2 separate regions of the Homo sapiens genome follow, and region 2 is linked to region 1. The links are contacts of gene promoters, found by promoter capture Hi-C in blood cells and fetal thymus (Javierre and others, 2016). All regions are on one chromosome and are shown on one strand. Each heading gives the region's core, a stretch centred on a gene start or on the middle of the fragment in contact. The rest is flanking DNA. Distances are from core to core; before and after follow the strand shown. Region 1 holds the start of GAD2 (glutamate decarboxylase 2). Region 2 overlaps ANKRD26 (ankyrin repeat domain containing 26).

The links. The method cuts DNA at HindIII sites, captures the fragments that hold promoters and counts their contacts. A CHiCAGO score of 5 or more calls a contact.
Region 2: a contact is called between a fragment that was not itself captured here and the fragment with the promoter of GAD2 in region 1, in 1 of 17 cell types (neutrophils). The highest score is 5.2, in neutrophils.

The regions. Positions count from the first base shown.
Region 1 is chr10:26,215,036-26,218,390 of GRCh38, reverse strand. GAD2 (glutamate decarboxylase 2) reads right to left here and starts at 1,617. Exons shown (of 16, transcript NM_001134366.2): 1 at 1,506-1,617; 2 at 722-781; 3 at 400-549. The coding sequence starts at 1,581. RefSeq lists enhancers at 1-293, 2,903-3,355. The HindIII fragment of the contact is 6,458 bases long and covers 1-3,355 here.
Region 2 is chr10:27,008,754-27,012,116 of GRCh38, reverse strand. All of the region lies in intron 32 of ANKRD26 (ankyrin repeat domain containing 26), which reads left to right. Among named protein-coding and RNA genes, the nearest start is that of FAM238C, 68 kb to the right of the region's middle. The HindIII fragment of the contact is 2,092 bases long and covers 363-2,454 here.

The DNA.
Region 1 (3,355 bases), core at 368-2,867:
TCTAAAGACCTAAAAAAAATGCAATTCTGAATTCTCGGGCACGGTATTTGGAAACTGAGTCCCACCCGAGGCCCCAGCGGCCTAGGGAAGCCAGCCGTCATCGATTCAGTGAGCGCACGAGCGCCTGGATCGTCGGCCACCCGCCATCCCAAGGGCCGCGCTGGGGGAAGAGCGCCACGGCCTCAGAGCCCTCTTGGAGCTCCGAGGCCAGGTTCGGGGGCTTGGACCCAGCGGGCAGGTCCCGCATTTCTCGCTTTTATCTGAAGATTCTGGCAGGTCCCGCCTCCGCTGCCACCTCGACGCCCCTGTCCGGCTCTCAGCGCCGGACCCGCACCGGCCGCGGTGGGCGGGGCAGAGAGAGGGGCAGGGGCGCCCCGGGGCTCCCCGCTGAGTCTTTACCTGTTGCATGGAGAAACGCGTAGTTGACATCCACTTTGGAGCAGCTGCAGGGCTTCTGGTCGCAGGCGCAGGCGGCCTTCCGGGCGGCGGCCCGCGGGGGTTGGCTCCCGCCGCTCTCCGCCGGCTTCTCGGCGTCTCCGTAGAGCAGGGCTGGGTAAGGACACCGAACGCGGGCCTCGTCAATCCTCCGCCGGGCCCGGCTCCCTCGCTCCCGCCTACCCGCAGCCAGGAAACCCCGACTCCGCTGACTGGGATGCGGAGGTGAGAAGACTGCTTGGACCCCGCGGGCCGACCTTGGCCGCCCCGGTCCCTGGGCACTCACCGCACAGTTTGTTTCCGATGCCGCCCGTGAACTTCTGAGCCACTTGGCACCAGGCTCGCGCTGCAAGGAAGAATAGGCAGGCAGACAGCGAGGCAGAAAGAGAACAACAGACGGACGTGTGAAATTTCGTTCTATGTGAAAATCAATCAGTCCGGGGTCCTAGGAGGGGCCGCCTTCCTCCTGGGGGCCGCTCAGGACTCGGTGAGGCCGGCAGGTGCAGAAGGCAAGCGGGAGGCTGGCGGCCCGGGCCAGCCCTCATTTCCTTTATCTGTTTCCCGAGGAGAAGCCCACACCGCTGCCCTTCCAGGTGCCAATCGGCTCAGGCAAATTCCTCTCCCTGCCTACCTTGGACGAGTTTTCCTAAACACTGAAGCTATCCATTTTTTCGCAGACTGTCTTTCTAGATAAAGAAATCTCTCACCTTTCCCATTTTTTTTTTCTATCTTCACGGTCACTCCGTCCCACCCCAGGGTCCAGACACCCGGATCTTAGCAGCGCCCCAGGACCACGGAATTCCATGTCCCCGAGACACCGCGGTCTTTGGGGGGCTCTTCCAACCTTCTGTGGAACGGGCCTGAGACTATTTGGGCGTCTTCCCAGGGTACAAGAGGCTGTAGAGGTCTTGAGCTCTTGGGCCGTCAAGGACTTAGCCCAAAAGCAGGGAGAAGCGCCCGAAGAAGTTTCCTGTTGCAGGTGGAAAAACCTCCTTCGTCTTCTCCGTAGTTCCGCAAACCCCAGACCACCGCAAAACTCGCCCGCCGCAGGCCCCCGTTCTCCTTCCTACCTGTGCCGGGATTCTCGGAATCCCCAGAGCCATCTTCCGACCCGAAAGACCAAAAGCCAGAGCCCGGAGATGCCATCGGCTTTGGAGACTGGAGCAGGTCGCCTGCGAGTGCGAGCTGCGGGCGAGCTGCCTCGGGCTTGGCCCTGCGCGCGCGTGCGTGCCCGTGTGGCGGGAGGAGGGCACCGCGCGGGGACCGGCGGGGCCGAGCGGCGAGGGCGGGTGTCACGCAGGAACAGAAAACGTGCGTGTCTGTGCGTGTGTGTATGCGAGCTGGAGACAGGGTTTAGGGACGTGGCAACCCTTTGGAAGCCGGGGAGCTTTAAAAGAGACCGGGACTACCTAAGGGTCCTCGGAGCCCGGACTCAGGAAAGCGCGGAGAGCCCCAGAGCATTTGAGGGAAAGGGAGCCCAGTGGGGATGAATGAGGGGGCGGCGGAGGAAAAAAACACGAGAGAGGGAGGGAGCTGAGTCGTGAGGATGCGAGGCAGACCATGCACGCCAGCTGGAGTCAGAGTGAGGGGGTGGGAGGCGTGCCAGCGCGTCCTCGGGCGAGCCAGAGGCGGGAAGTGCGGGCGGCCGCTGTCCCGGGTGCTGCCACAGCCGCTGCGCGCCAGCGTCAGCGAGGGGCAGACTGGGGAGACCTCGGCGAGGCGGGAAGCGTGGCCCAGAGGAGTTTTCTGTGTGCATCGATTGGGGTTTTGTTTGAGGTCTGGCTCCAGCTGAGGGGAAGGAAGCGGGGTTCCCGCGCCGTTTTCCTCCAAGCAGGTGCTGAGGTCACTGCGACCTCGAGAGCTCGCGCCCCGGGCGGGCATCAGGCGCCGTTCACGAGCCTGGGGAGGGGACGGCGGGGGAAGGGCTCCTACCCGCTGATGGGCTCATTTCAGCGCCTTGGTAGAACCTGACGCCTGCCTGCTGAACCGCGCCGTACCCGGGGGCGCACCGTTCCTGCGTAGCCAAGGGCTAGATCGCGGGACCCACCGTCCAGGCTCTGAGTGACGGCTGGGGAGAATGACTGCTGATTGAGGCAATTAAAATCCACGCTGGAGTCTACTGAGGACCTCGGGCTGGGGAAAAAAAAATAAAACGAATGGAAACTTCTTGGAAGAGAATGAGGCAGAGCGGCCAGAGTCGGCAGGATTGATGGCGGGTGGGGGATGGAATCAGGGCATTTGGTGACCTTGGCCCGCGGAGGCGTGGAAGCGCCCGCTGCTTGCGTGTAAGGGGGATCTGTGTGCGCCTGGGAGGGGAGAACAGGGTTTCCAACTAAGCAATCTCGGCTTTACAAATCCGAGTAGGAAAGAAGGCATCGCCTGCAGGGCCCTCGTTTTAAGGGGCTTCAAACCAATGCCCCCCCTCGCCCCCAGAGAATCTTCGCGGTAGCGGGTGACCCGGAAGCGCGAGATTGGTTCTCTCTGAGGCGTATTAGGAGGCGGTTTCTCTTTTTCTAATAAAGAAAGGAGGAGAAAGTCAGAATCGTTCTGATGATTTCCTTTCTACAAAAAGCTATTGCAGACAGGGAGGACGCCCTAAGGATTGGGAGCCCTTTGACAGTTTGCGCTGCGTTCTCCTGGCAGTGGAGATGAACTTCAAGTGCACCTCGGAGCTCCGGGGCTCTGGGGGAGACGGAGGGAGGGAGAGAGAGGAAAGGGCTGAGGTCGGCTTCCCGAGGCGGCTGCCTTCCCCGCGCCTGGCCAGAGCGCCTGTCATTTCCATTGTGTTCACAAGTCGTTTTATTTCTCTGACCTCCTGAACCAGCCACCAAAGCTGCTAACAAAGCAGAGACCCGGGGATCCCGTCTGGGCGAGCACCCCTCGACCCTCGCTTAGAAGGGACATCCTGGGGCCCATGCTG
Region 2 (3,363 bases), core at 159-2,658, 790 kb before region 1:
CACTTAACCACATATGGAAATTTATTACTTAAAGAACTCCAAGATAAATACTTCTTATGAATTAAACAAACTCTAACACTGATTAATTTGTATTTTTAAGTTTTGTCATTTTCTTACTTAGGAGTACATTCTTAGTTGCTATTGTTACAGCATTTTTCTCTCAATTTTTGTAAAATGTGTCTATTACTGGGCAATTGCACAGTGGTTTTTAAATAGTTAAAGCAAGCAAATATGTGAATTTAAAAAATGCACTTGTGCCATTACTTGAATGATTGATGTCTAAGATGGCAGTGATATCAAGAGTGTTTAGTAAGTATGATCAAACAATTATTTTCTTCCTACCCAGAATTTCATGTTAAGCTTCACAGGGTCCTCATCTCCCCTGGATCCTAGCTTTACAGTAACAAGGTCCTAGCTAGCCAATATTATGTTCATATTGTTAGCTTAGTTTTGTCTTGCTCTTCTAGAACAATAGAAAACCCATTGAAGAGGAACCTTGCAATCCAGCCTTACGATTTCACTCATAGTACGACTTCATTTCTGGGGATCTCAAGATGAATTCAACAATGACAAGTTTTATCAATTGTAGACTTGGTAGGGAAAAAAAAAATCAACTATGCTTGATCCAGTTTAAGATACTTGTCTAACTTTTGACCATTTTTGACTGGGGGAACAAATTACAAAAGCTGGTTGCAATGGTGAACACTTGTAATCCCAGCTACTTGGGAGGCTGGGGCAGGAGGATTGCTTGAGCCCAAGAGTTTAAGGTTGTAATGTGTTTTTACTGCAACTGTGAATAGCAGCCGCACTCCAGCCTGGGCAGCATAGCAAGACCCTGTCTCTTAAAAAATTACAAGAAGCATAAAACATTTGTTTGAACAAAAATAAATAAATAGCAACTAGTTTTTGTTGTGTATCATTATGAAAATATCCATTTTAATCAGTGCACGTTAGCTTAAGATTTAATGGTATTTTCATGATCTTAATGCAGAGAAAAAAAGTGTAGACTCATGTTAAATGAGACCTCAACCTTGTTTCTTTACCAGGCCTCATGTCCTAACAAATCATAGAAGACCAAGTCTAAGGTTTCTTAGACAGCACTGCAGCCAAGTGGCTTAACAAGGAACAAATCAAATGATTGTTTTAATACATAAATTATAAGATCTATCCAGCTAATTTTTTTCATCATTTTGTTAGCTTAGTTTTGTCTTATTTTTCTGACAATGAGATGATCAGGGTCTAAATGCTTCAGAGTCATGAAATTTTCCTACTGGGTACAAAAAGAAAATGAATGTCAAATACTTGTGTAGGCCGGGTGCAATGGTTCATGCCTATAATCCCAACACTTTGGGAGGCCGAAGCAGGAAGATCACCTGAGCTCAGGAGTTCAAGACCAGGCTGGGAAACATAGTGAGGCATAGTGAGATCTCATTTCTACAAAAAATTAAAAAAAATTAGCTGGGCATGGTGGTGCACGCTTGTAGTCCCAGCTTCTTGGGAGGCTGAGGCAGGAGAATCACTTGAGCTCAGGAGCTCAAGGCTACAGTGAGCTATGATCGTGCTTCTGCACTCCAGCCTGGATGACAGAGTGAGACCCTGTCTCAAAAAATCCAAAACAATAACAAAAAACCTTCTGTAACTTACTAAGCATGATGCAAATATAAAATTTTCTCATTAGTTCCTACCAGAAAACTCAGGTAACAACATTTTATAAGATGATGAAAGAATATGTAGATACGCAATGTAAGGGAAGATTTTTGAGGAAATGTTTTTCCTTAATTGATTTTTTTGGGGAGCAAGGAGGTGTTTATTTTTAGTATTTCTAGATAAGCTGAAAAATATTCCATTGGTATACATGGTTTCTTTGTGGGGCACTGGTTTGCCAAACCATGTTAGATTTAACAAAAGAGATTAAAAAGAACCATTCTGTCAGGTCAAGTGACTTTCATACATTAAAAAAATTTTTTTGAAAGAATAGAACTTTTAAAAAATGGCATGAAACTATATTACATAAAACAGATAGAAGTAGAGCTCTCTGGCTAAAGGACAGGTAGGGGCTCTGAAGCTGTGACTTCCTTATCCCTTAATCCTGCAATATCCTCTGTAGAACCTTAGATTTCTGTGGGACATAGTTTGAAAACTACTGGTTATGAAAGAATCCTTCTAATTAGCCAAAACTTGTTGGTACATTGTTCTTTTATAATTTTCTCCTATTCTTATATTTTAAAATGAAAAAGTATACATGAAGTTGCAGATGTGCTCCCTTTATTAATGTTGGACCTCAGGCTGCCTCCGCCACCTGAAGCATAACCCCCACCTGGAAATAAACAAAGTCCACAGAGAAAGGAGGAGCATTTTTATAAAACGTAGTTTATTTATTTTACTCCATAATAGCTTTCGATTTTGTATTATGCATTAAATTATTAGCGTAAGAGATTAGTAATTTATTAAGCTTTTTAATTTCCTCTAGCAGTGTTCAGTTTCTCCTAAGCTATTGCTCTATACATTTCAAAAACCATCGATGGCACCTTGTCTACCTCAATAGGACAGTTATTAATGTCACCAAGACATTTTTCTCTCCTTTTTTCTTCCATAGTCTGTATCAGGCACTGTGTTAAGTTATTTAACTGGAGACAATAATTTTAAATTTGTATTAAGGGAAATATGAGGAAAATGTGTGATTTAATGGGAAATTAGGAATAAAATGAAAGGGACTTTTTCAAAGTCATTTAATGTTTGCCAGTTTTCACTTTTAATATAGGTAAAACCATCCCAGTTTCCCACCAACCAGGACAAAACCAGACTTGTCAACACAGAAGACCCTTTTCCTAAGCTTTCAAGTGTCCCTCCCAGAGCACCTCCCTCCTGGGTTCTGGGTCTGCCCCTTTTCCCTTTGAGCCTTTATGTCTGACCTGGTGTCCTTTTCTCAAAAGTAGTTGCCCTCAGCTGTCATTTATGTGGTAAAATATTCAAGGGTTGGCCAGGCATGGTGGCTCCTGCCTGTAATCCCAGCACTTTGGGAGGCCCAGGTGGGCGGATCACGAGGTCAGGAGTTTGAGACCAGCCTGTCCAATATGGTGAAACCCCGTCTCTACTAAAAAATACAAAAATTAGCTGGGCGTGGTGTTGCGCGCCTGTAGTCCCAGCTACTCAGGAGGCTGAGGCAGGAGAATTGCTTGAACCCAGGAGGCAGAGGTTACAGTGAGCCGAGATTACTCCACTACACTCAAGCCTGGGCAACAGAGTGAGACTCCACCTCAAAAGAAAAAAAATAAATTCAAGGGTCATTGAGAGGCTGGAAGAGACTTTATGTAGCGGGAGGCCACTCCAGGGCTGGAATAGAGGCAACAACTTTATACCATA